4 separate regions of the Homo sapiens genome follow, and all the other regions are linked to region 3. Evidence: promoter capture Hi-C in 16 types of primary human blood cells and fetal thymus (Javierre and others, 2016). All regions are on one chromosome and are shown on one strand. Each heading gives the region's core, a stretch centred on a gene start or on the middle of the fragment in contact. The rest is flanking DNA. Distances are from core to core; before and after follow the strand shown.

Evidence for each region. Contacts are between HindIII fragments. The CHiCAGO score rates a contact against its expected background, and 5 or more counts as called.
Region 1: a contact is called between a fragment that was not itself captured here and the fragment with the promoter of IFNE in region 3, in 10 of 17 cell types (naive CD4 T cells, endothelial precursors, total CD4 T cells and 7 more). The highest score is 11.8, in naive CD4 T cells.
Region 2: a fragment that was not itself captured here is called in contact with the fragment with the promoter of IFNE in region 3 in 10 of 17 cell types (endothelial precursors, naive CD8 T cells, naive CD4 T cells and 7 more); the score reaches 13.4 in endothelial precursors.
Region 4: a fragment that was not itself captured here is called in contact with the fragment with the promoter of IFNE in region 3 in 4 of 17 cell types (non-activated CD4 T cells, naive CD8 T cells, naive CD4 T cells and 1 more); the score reaches 6.2 in non-activated CD4 T cells.

The regions. Positions count from the first base shown.
Region 1 is chr9:21,781,028-21,783,974 of GRCh38, reverse strand. No RefSeq gene overlaps it. Among named protein-coding and RNA genes, the nearest start is that of MTAP, 20 kb to the left of the region's middle. The HindIII fragment of the contact is 2,517 bases long and covers 283-2,799 here.
Region 2 is chr9:21,797,404-21,800,158 of GRCh38, reverse strand. No RefSeq gene overlaps it. Among named protein-coding and RNA genes, the nearest start is that of MTAP, 3.9 kb to the left of the region's middle. The HindIII fragment of the contact is 2,027 bases long and covers 400-2,426 here.
Region 3 is chr9:21,480,924-21,484,029 of GRCh38, reverse strand. It overlaps IFNE (interferon epsilon), which reads left to right and starts at 1,717. Exons shown (of 1, transcript NM_176891.5): 1 at 1,717-3,106. The coding sequence starts at 2,336. The coding sequence ends at 2,962. The region is part of intron 1 of MIR31HG (MIR31 host gene); the gene reads left to right. The HindIII fragment of the contact is 2,296 bases long and covers 1-1,970 here.
Region 4 is chr9:21,751,774-21,754,507 of GRCh38, reverse strand. All of the region lies in intron 1 of LOC107987026 (a long non-coding RNA gene), which reads left to right. Among named protein-coding and RNA genes, the nearest start is that of MTAP, 49 kb to the left of the region's middle. The HindIII fragment of the contact is 4,259 bases long and covers 1-2,734 here.

The DNA of each region.
Region 1 (2,947 bases), core at 292-2,791, 300 kb before region 3:
TGGCACATTTCCATTACCACCTTGAGCATACAAGAAGTCCTCTGCATATGCCCATTGAATGAATGAATTGAAAGATGTCCCTCTCCTCCTGCCAAAAGAAAAGAAAAGAAAAGAAAACAGAAGGACAAAACTCACAAGGCCCTAAGAGCAATTCCAGAGAAAAACAGAAAGAAAACGAAGTTATCTGAAGCTCAGATAAGAGGGGAAATAAGAGTTGAAAGAAAAGCTTAAAAATTGGAAGAAAAGCAAGAGGTTTGATTCAATTGAAGGACTCAACAAGCTTTTCCTCCCCAAATTCTTGCTACATATAATGGCATGATATAGAGCTAAGTATATTTTATGAATTATTTTATTTATTTCTCAAAGTAATATAAGATGTCTACTCATATTATGCCCATTGTACAGATGAGATCACAATCAAGTCTGGACCAAGTCTGTGTGAGACCAGAGGTACACTTGTAGCTATTGTCCAAGATTGGACAGTAAATTATATGACACCCTAGCTGTAGGGTCCACTTGAATGAATAAGACACAGATTTTGGCCTCTAAGGAGCTTATACTCTACTAGAGGAAGTCAACCTGAAAACAAATAATTTTAATTCAAAGCAGAGTGACATGAGAGTGTACTTAAGGAGCAAAGTGGGAGGTTTATGGCCCAGAGAAGAAGCACTTAATTCTGATTTGTGGGTGGGTTTAAACAACCAGTGTTAGGGAAGAAATAAATGAGAATGTAGTTTTCCCCACCAATTTTTTGTGTGTGTGTCCTAGAAACAATTCCTGAAAAGGGATCTTACAGCCGGACAGACTGATTAGAGGTGAATATATTCTAACCTCTGCCTTACATAGAAATTAAATCCTAGCAAACCCTGTATAGGTTTAAGGAAGTAAATTTCTATTCCCACGCAAGGCAGCAGGTACTTCCTAGTCATTTCAAATCATGATCACTTTAAGGAAAACCAAAAACGCTGACTGGAATTTAAAAAAAAGAACTTTCAGCTGGAGGCCTGTGAAATCTTTCCTAAATTTTTGTTTAAATTGTTATAAATTTGATGCTGAATCATACTTTATTTACAAAAACATCCTGTGTCCCAGTGAAATCTTTCTTTATGCCATTTCCAATTAGACCCACTTTCTTAAAAATAAATTTGTAACACAGTTTTTTTAAAAGAGAAATCTCAACTAGCAGATGTATATTATATATATTATCAAATAAAATATAATGTCATGTATAAAATACATAAATTTTCTCCTTCAACATAGAAATGCCTCTTAATATATTAAAATTATTCCTTTATAAATTATATCTATATAATTTGTCTCAGCGTAGCATTAAAGATGGTTAATGTAATCTAGTGTTTTGCACTTTCTAGAAAAAAAAAATCCCATTAGGAGAAATTCAAAATGTTTTACAAATATGCCAGGGAGTAGGTTTTAATCATTGCCCTTCTCTTCACCTGGACAGGAAGTGAAAACAAGACTGTTGGTTGAAATGACTTATGCAAAGGTGAGAAGCACTAACAAAGTTTAGCCCTGACTCTGCTAACGCCGTCATTCTGTCCCAGAAGCCATGTCATCTAACTGCTGGTCAGTCATGAAGAAAGCATTTCTGGAGCCTCACCCCTAAGTGAATTTGCTTGGCAATAGGTAGAGGGGATAAATTAGTGACTTCCTTTTACCTACTGAACAACTTGCTGAGTATCTTGTACTTAACCCAGGTCACTGAGATACAATCTAAGAAAAAAAAAATCAGCACATTCCAAAGAGAATGAAAGCAGTTTCTATTCCAAAGATAAATCAATGGAGTTGTCACAGGTGGAAATTAGTTTCTGTGTATTTGTTGTTTTCTTCTTCTGTCTCAGGTCTCTTTGATTATCGCTGAAGACTTATAGGAAAAGCCCCTAAAATATTTAAATGATTATATATTGGAAAATTTTTTTAAAGAATATTGATTCTTAGGAATGAGCTAGATAAGAGGACTAGTTTGGAGAGATTAATCAGCATTTGGGGTTTACTGAAAATGTCACCACAATCCAGCGGCCCCAAACTATGCAAGACAAACCAGTATATTATTTCTCTAAAAGGAATCTAAACTGAGTGTATACACACGATGACACTCAGATTTACCTTTGTTCTTGAGTGAAAGCAAAAGAGATTGGTATGTCATCTGTTAACAATGTTCAAGTTAGAGAATTCCCTGCAGGATTTTATTTATGAAAAGGTAAAAAAAGGTTGTTACACATTTTTTTCTAACCTATGTCTCTGCAATCAAGGAAAGTATGATTTTCTATAATTTGATTGTAGTTATTTCTTTAGTGTAGGAGTGTTCACCTACAGTAGAGTGCAGTGTGTTCACCAGGTAAATGAGAACATATGATAATAATCTTTGTCCCAACAGGCACGGTAGAGCTGATAGTTCCTGGAAGCTGGTGGCATTAACTCTCTTTAATCAAGGTATAGGTGAAACTGGTTTATTAGGAATGATACTAGGATGTGGAGTGCTGATCCTTGTTTTCCCAGGTGCTTTTTAGACTAAGTAATCCTCAAAGAGTTAGAGAAATACTACAGAATTTGGTAAAGCACTACAGAGATATGTTTTCTACACATTTAGCTTTTTTGGAGTGGAAAAGATTACAGAAAATTCCTTCTTTTAAAAATAATTTGAGCAATATTTCAATCATAATATAGGACAGCATGAAAAAAATAATCTATAGTTCTATTTTCATGAGGTCACATTGCATAGGTTTGAATTCCACCTATTCCCTTTTGTAGCTGAGTGAACTTGAAAAAACTTATTAAGCTTCTTTGCACTTCAGTTTCCTCACCTATAACATAGAGATATTAATAGTAGCTAACGAATGAGGTTGTTTCAGGATTATATTAGATTAAATATACAAAGTACTTAGAACAGTGCTTGACACATCGTAAGTGCTTAGCAAATATTAGCTAC
Region 2 (2,755 bases), core at 164-2,663, 320 kb before region 3:
CAAATCTTCAGGAGGAAGTATTCACACAAATGCATGAAATGTATCACCTCAGCCAACCATATCAGCTTTCCCACTGAATTGTTATATTTCTGCCCCTGACCAGTATGTCTGTCCTGGATGGGTACTACAAAATGGGCCCAAGCTGGCTGGTAACCCATCCTCATCTGAAGGTATTAAAGCTGGCAAGTTGTCATGGCCTAAGAAACTCACATAACTCCCCACTACCTTGTAGATATTTGGGCCAAAATAAAAATTCTAAATAACATGGAGGTGTGCTTAGAGATCCCCAATGGTGTGTGAATCACATCTTTTTACAATACACCTGTATCACAGCCACAATGAGTAGGGACATTTTGGCCACTACTTTTGACAATGGATTAGATTCCCACATTGGAAGCTTTGTGAAAAAGCTAAAGTTCTATTAGCAAGCAGCCACTCTAGATTTAGCAGAACATTGTTGAAAAAATATCTGGGGGAACAATAAGTAAACTAATTATAATAATGACAGTAATACATTTTAAAAATTATTGCATCTTCAGATTCTCAGCCAGGCAAGCCTATGCCAGCATGAAGAAGCCAAAGATGTCTGAACTGGTATAAATTCAGGTTCAAAATCCACAACATCATCGTTGTGCACAGTGTGGTCATTGGGAAGAAAAAAGTTAAACTCAGAGACTCAATGCCCTTAATAAAATTGTATCCAAAGAAACTTCTCCACAGGCAATTATCAGAATAATCAACTTCTCTTTATCCTGCCCAAGAAGGAAAAAAAATGTACTGAAAAGAAAATAGTGGCTAGTGTTTATTAAGAAGCAAAAGATATGCAAGTATGTACCAGGCCAGTCCTAAGGTACCCTTCTGAAAAAACATTGAATATAATTGGATAAATGTATAAGAGATTTGTCTGCAATCCAAGTTCTCTTAACACTCTTGATTGTAAATAACTGAACAAATTATTGATCTAAAAAATACAGCTATGTGTCTTTACCCTGACTCTGCAGTATAGACCATGATACAACATAAACATTAACATTTTAGTAACTAGAGACTTAGATATTTTTGTCATAGAAGGCCTAATTGAACCTTTCTAAATTTCTTATAGGTTAGTATGTGACTATTACTCTAAAACTTTAAGGAAATAAGAACAAAAAACAAAGAGAAGTGTTCCATTCTCCCATTATCATAGTGATAAAACAAAATAAGTAGTATGTCACAAGTGAAGAAAATATTACTGAAATCTAATATTAAAAATGCATTTATTGCAGGTACTTTATAGAGGGAATTGCAAGTGATATACTAGGTTTCTCAAAAAATATTTACATCACATTTTAGGTGGCAATTCCTTATAATGACCTTTAATGAAAGTGGAGAGTCCAGTTATAAAGTGTAACCTGGCATCTGTGTTTTTGGTTGAGGGAAGAACCCCATGCTTTAAAATGAGTTAAGTAGGGTCAGTTTTGACAGTCTGCTTTAAAGTTGGTATGCTCCAGATAGTTGGAATTAGCCATATGTTTCTTGTTGCAATAGAATCAAGTTCTCCTTCAGTTTTCTTTATTCGTTCCTTCTATTCAAAGTCCCTTTTACCCTAGAAATATCCTTCATTGCAAATCACCTTGTCTTGTCTTCAAAGTTCACTTCAAATTGTATCTCCCCTATCATTTCTGAAACTCTACTGAAGATGACTTAAGTTGCATATAATTTGGATTTTTTGAAGTAAAATCTCACCATTTTTTCACTTTTCTTAGATTAATGCTGCACATTAAAAGCATATTCAGGTTAACAGAATGGCCATCTACCCTGGACTCCCAGGATCTTCACATACCTATTATAAATAATAATAGGTATTATTATTTCTGTTATAGGATAAGCAAAGTGTAAGATTAAGCCCTGAACCCTATACCTCCCTCAGTGAAAGAGAGAGTATGTTCAATCTTGATCTGAAGAGACATGATTCTCAGCTTCTGTGCTTTGTATAGAAAAGGGCCAAAAAGTAATAGATACCCAGATGTATTTTAATATCACAGATGCAACATAATCTCTGCTTAGCGTGTCAGGATCTAAAGCTATGATGAAAGACCCATATAATGAGCTCTTATGTGACCCACTGCTCTTTATTCCACTTTAAAAACTTAAGGCAGGAAATAAGTCTAAAAGCATTGCTTTTCTTCTCTGGCAAATCCATATGTTGTCTGTACATACAATCCTAAAAACAAATTGGGAACAAAGTCATATTTGTCTTCTGAGCATCTTCAAGAGCAACAACAAAACAGCTAATATTTATTAAGAGCCACATATTCTTCATTTAATCCTCACAGATATTAATGTCATTGCTATTAATGTAATTTCCATTTTACAGAGGAGGAGAGAGAGAGAAGTTGAATTGCTGTAACTTCATCTTTTCTGCTTATTTGCCTCTCCCCAAAGCTTCCTTGTCCGTTTGGAATCTTCAGGACTTCCCTCTCTCTAGCCCATCAAAATGTCAATCAAACCTATCAAACCTGTTAAGTTGCCAAAATCACCTTAAAATGTTACCTCACCCAGGGGTTTATGAATTTTACAGGTATTAAGCCTTAAATTGAGATAATTAAATTCTAGGTAGGATGTGATGTTTGAGAAAGGACAAGTGTTGGTGTTATTATCACTATCATTGCATGAGGAACATGAGGCTCAGAGCATTTAAGAAGTCTTCTCAAATTTATATAACTAAAGTAATTGAGATTCAGTCCTGAATCTGTCCTAATTGCAAAGTCTAAAC
Region 3 (3,106 bases), core at 468-2,967:
ATAAAGGGGTCAATTCATCAAGACGACATAATAATCCTAAATATGATGCACCTAATACTAAAGTTCTAAAATATATAAGGCAAAAACTGATAGAACTGAAATGGGAGATAGGCAAATCTAAAATTATACTAGGGATTTCAGCTCTTCTGTCTTGATAGTTGATAGAACAAATAGACCATCAGAAAGGATACAGAAAATTTCAAACACTTTCAATCAGCTTAACCTATTTGACATTTATAAAACAGTCCAACCAACAAAAGTAGAACATTATTATTTCAAGTTCACAAGGAACTGTCACCAAGATAAACCATATTCTAAGCCATAAAATAAGTCTCAATAAATTTAAACTACATTCTTTAACCACAACAGATTCAAATATGAAATCAGTAACAGAAAGGCATCTGGAAAATCCCTGATCATTTGGAAATTAAACAACATTTAGATCATTTTTGTCAATTGAATGAAAATGATGAGAAAGCCTTATAGATCAGAGCTCGTTGTTATTAGATGGAGTAACTTCTGATATTCTTAATTTATTTTTATATTGTTTTCCCGAAGCTCAGCATTAAATATTTAAAGATTTTTTGAGACTAGTCAAAATTCTACTTTCCAGATAGATTGAGCATAATGTTATGAAACAAGTGTTATTCCTTTCGTATATTATATATTATCATATGTCTTTTCTCTCTCTTTCTCTTTCTCTCTCTCTCTCTCTCTCTCTCTCTCTCTCAGATAGGGAGGGAAAAGACCCTCTGTGGAGCATGCTGACTGAGTTTATTTCAACTTATTAATACTAGACTAAGTGACCAAACATACAGCTGAGCTGGTATATAATGAGACCATACATGTTTACAGAGTGCCTGTTTTTGACATTTAGGGATTCACCCAGCTGCCTGCAGAGAAATGATTAAAGATAAGACTCAACATCTTGTATTACTTTGTGTAGAACATATTAATTTATTCCAAGTCAACACATATTTATTAAGCAACTACTATAGTTGTATAGACAGCAAAGAAATCAGTAATCAGTGTTTATTTCACACTCTGAAGAGACTTTTAATCATGTAAGTACATAGTCAAGTATAAGACAGAACAAGAAAGGTGTCTTAAATAAGGTAGGTACAAAGTGTTGTGGGGATCCAGAAGATTATGGCTCCTTGGGGGAGATCTGGGCCTTAAAGGACAAGTAGTCTTTAGTCCTTGCACAGAAAGGTTCTTGAGGTAAAGGAGGCAACAGTTGATGTTTCAGAGAAAGCATCATCAATAAACACACACACACACAAGTGCTAGCTGTATTAAGGGAATACTAAATCACTTACTTTATCTGGAGTTCAGATTCCTTCACACTATATTTAGAGCAACAGTGGGATAAGATTGGAAAGGTATATTGGGGGCTTATTCAAGAGGAACTTAGAATATGGAACTGGGTATTTGTAATTCAAAGGACATTGTTAATGTAGAGATGTTCACATTAGTTTACCAGAGCTATCACTATTCTAGGGAATATACGCTAACCAAATGCCCCCAATCTCTCTTCACATATAATTTTGTCATCTATAATGGATATATATCATTTAATTATATGGCTGTACCAACATATATGTAATCATTCACCTGTCGTTGAACCTATAGGTTGTTTCTAATATTCTGCTTTGCAATAATATTATAACACTCTTCTTTTGCTAATTTTTTTGCATTGCTTCTATAGGCTAGAATCTTAGATATTAAACTGATAGGATAAGATATAAAATAATTTAAGATTGCTGATATATGTTTTAAAATTAATTATTTGCTCAAGCATTTGTGACAATTTACAGTTCTAATTGAGGTTTTAAATTTAGTAGTTTGTAGGTATTTTAAGTTTTGCCCCTGAATTCTTTATAGGTGCTGATAAGCCTTTGGTAAGTTTTACTCCATGAAAGACTATTACTGAAAAAAACGTAATCTCAATAAAAGAACTTTAATAAGCTTGACTAAATATTTAGAAAGCACATTGTGTTCAGTGAAACTTTGTATATAATGAATAGAATAATAAAAGATTATGTTGGATGACTAGTCTGTAATTGCCTCAAGGAAAGCATACAATGAATAAGTTATTTTGGTACTTCCTCAAAATAGCCAACACAATAGGGAAATGGAGAAAATGTACTCTGAACACCATGAAAAGGGAACCTGAAAATCTAATGTGTAAACTTGGAGAAATGACATTAGAAAACGAAAGCAACAAAAGAGAACACTCTCCAAAATAATCTGAGATGCATGAAAGGCAAACATTCACTAGAGCTGGAATTTCCCTAAGTCTATGCAGGGATAAGTAGCATATTTGACCTTCACCATGATTATCAAGCACTTCTTTGGAACTGTGTTGGTGCTGCTGGCCTCTACCACTATCTTCTCTCTAGATTTGAAACTGATTATCTTCCAGCAAAGACAAGTGAATCAAGAAAGTTTAAAACTCTTGAATAAGTTGCAAACCTTGTCAATTCAGCAGTGTCTACCACACAGGAAAAACTTTCTGCTTCCTCAGAAGTCTTTGAGTCCTCAGCAGTACCAAAAAGGACACACTCTGGCCATTCTCCATGAGATGCTTCAGCAGATCTTCAGCCTCTTCAGGGCAAATATTTCTCTGGATGGTTGGGAGGAAAACCACACGGAGAAATTCCTCATTCAACTTCATCAACAGCTAGAATACCTAGAAGCACTCATGGGACTGGAAGCAGAGAAGCTAAGTGGTACTTTGGGTAGTGATAACCTTAGATTACAAGTTAAAATGTACTTCCGAAGGATCCATGATTACCTGGAAAACCAGGACTACAGCACCTGTGCCTGGGCCATTGTCCAAGTAGAAATCAGCCGATGTCTGTTCTTTGTGTTCAGTCTCACAGAAAAACTGAGCAAACAAGGAAGACCCTTGAACGACATGAAGCAAGAGCTTACTACAGAGTTTAGAAGCCCGAGGTAGGTGGAGGGACTAGAGGACTTCTCCAGACATGATTCTTCATAGAGTGGTAATACAATTTATAGTACAATCACATTGCTTTGATTTTGTGTATATATATATTTATCTGTGTTTTAAGATTGTGCATATTGACCACAATTGTTTTTA
Region 4 (2,734 bases), core at 210-2,709, 270 kb before region 3:
TTCTCATAAGACCCGTTTGTTTAAAACTATGTAGCACTTCCCCTTTCCTGCTCTCTCTCCTACTCCTCCATGTAGCACATACTTGCTTCCCCTTCACCCTTCCGCCATGATTGTAGGTTTCTTGAGGCCTCCCAACCATGCTGCCTGTACAACCTGCAGAACTGTGAGTCAATTAAACCTGTTTTCTTCATAAATTACCCAGTATCATGTAGTTCTTTATAGCAGTGTGAGAATGGACTAATACAAACCCATACCACATTTTCCCTTCTCTTTTGAACCTGATCATCTCAGTCACATGATGATCCTGGGTTGAAGTAAATGAAAGTAGAAAAAAATACATAAGAGAGTTTTACTGCCTCATAAGACTTCATTTCAAAAACTGCTAGAGGGCAATATTAAGAATAACAAGGGTGTATCAATCAGGCACTCTTGCTCTCCAGTGCCTCTGAAAGATTTTCTCTCTTGTGAAGTTTAGGCATAAGGATGTGAACTCTAGCCTTAACTGAATCCTCTTGTATTAGAGATTTGGGTAAATCCCTCAAGTTTAATCTTGACCTTTGTTTGGAAAATAAATGGTGGGTCTCCAGTGACAACTTCTGAGAGCTCAGTTTACAAGGAGCTCTGTCAAGGATCCTTAAACACTACACATTTATTTCTTGTGAGAAAATGCTTTAACTCATTGAAGCACAGGGGAAATAAGTTGTTGATAGACCTTCTTCTTCCAAACTGTGTCATGGCAACAACCCTAGACAGGAATCTTGCTTAAACAGCTCTGTTTATCTTCCCTGCCCTGCTCAGCACTGGAATCTTGAGCATAATGGTCAGTTAGAATTTTTCTGACTTGGCTTCTCATCTTTGATGCCTAAAGGGACCTCCTATACTCTAGACTTTATGAACAATACAAGAGTTTTAGTTGAAATAATTGAAACTGGACATTGGGATGGAAACTGTATAGAAGTTATCGTACCTTAAGCATAATTATTTATAAACTCTAAATAAAATAATTGTAGGTATCTGTCAAAATTTCTAACCCTTCCTTTCCAACAGTTAGCCAAGTGTGTGTCCAGTTTGGTTTCACTTGGGATTCTTTTCCTTTGTTATCTATAGCCCATTTATCTCCATAATTCTTGCTGTCCCCAACTGACCTTCATTAAAATGGTCATTTCTTTTTATACCTGTTTGTTAGCAACAGCAAAAAAAAAGAAATCTTGGTTATTGAATTATTTTACTTAGATCTTGAAGTGTATTGAAGGAAGGTGGTGGTCCCTCACACTGTTGGCCTCAAGACCCCTCCAGAATGATTTGCCTTTCTGTCTCTCTGGATCTACTGTTTTTTGCCACTCTTGGGCATCATCTGACTGCTATCTTCCATTCAGTCTGTTCTGTCTGCAATCTCCGTAATAGTAGAACTAGGCGGAATTGTTAATTCTGTTCCCTTTGGAAGGAAGAAAAACTTCCAGACTGAGTTTGAATTGAAAAGTGGATCTTGTACTTGGTAGAGAAATGGACGCCAAGATGGCTTCTATGTAAATACTATCAAATTTCTTCCTGCACTGCTGGGGATATTCAGGGCTATTATTTTTTAAAAAATCATATGTGACATCTGCAGTGTCACAAAGCATTTTAAAGAACATCCAGACATACTCCCCAGAAGCTCTTAAAATGTATAAAAGAATTTAATAGACATATTCTGATACTTTAAGAAGAAATGCATGGAGCATGAAATCCAGCAAACTTCAATAATCAATCAACACAAATACATTTATTGAACACCTGTATCATACTTCCATTGACTTGCCTATATCCTATTAGCAATGATGGATTATATACAAAGAATTATTTTTGCTGTTTGTCATATCATCATTTGTCATATAAGGTGATTTTCATGCAGTTCATGCACACTTTAAAAATGCTTACTATTCAGGTTCTGTCAGATAAATATGGCACAATAAAGAAAACATTTAGAACACTGATAGCAGAGCATATATTTTTAAGATAAATTAGAAGCAAGTGTGTGTGAGTGTATACCTTTTAATCAAGAAGGCCTTGATGTTTCCCTCAGCTTGACTAAACTTGACAGGCTTCTCTCAGATTCTGAGCCCCTGACTTCTTTTTTTCCTAGAGCATTTACAAAAGAAAAAATTGTAATTGTAAATCCTTTCTCTGCCCCTTTGAGATGTAAATATTTTTAAAAGCCTCTTGCCTGTTGTACTACTCAGGGAAGTCTTTCTCAAGTTGCTGGGAGCCAACCCTTTGAAATGTAATCATCATGAAAAATAGCACCCCTGTCTACCAGTCTCTAAGGGAGAGTAGGAGCCTAACTTCAATGGGTGCCAATTAGCCAGCAGAGATGACCTAATCACAGAGAAAAGTATTTTGCAAACTCAGTGTGCTTCACACAACCCAGTGATCAACCTGCCCCCATCCTCCAGTGTTCTCTAGTTCCCTTCCACTAGCTCATACCAGTCCCTAAAGTTCCTCCCACCCCTTGTTATAGTGGAGTTGAGCAGGCTGATTTCTGGCCTCTCTCTCCTATTGTAATTGTCTTGAATAGCATTTGTCCTTGCTGCTTAACTTTGTCGGATGCAATTTTTGCTTTCACAATATGTATGTATACTCACCTTCATATAGCTAACATACAGCTACAGATTGAAAGCCACTCGGAAAAAACAAAAAAAATTAATGCCTCATAATATTATAGTCTCTAAAGGGTTCAGGTTTATGTATGCATTCT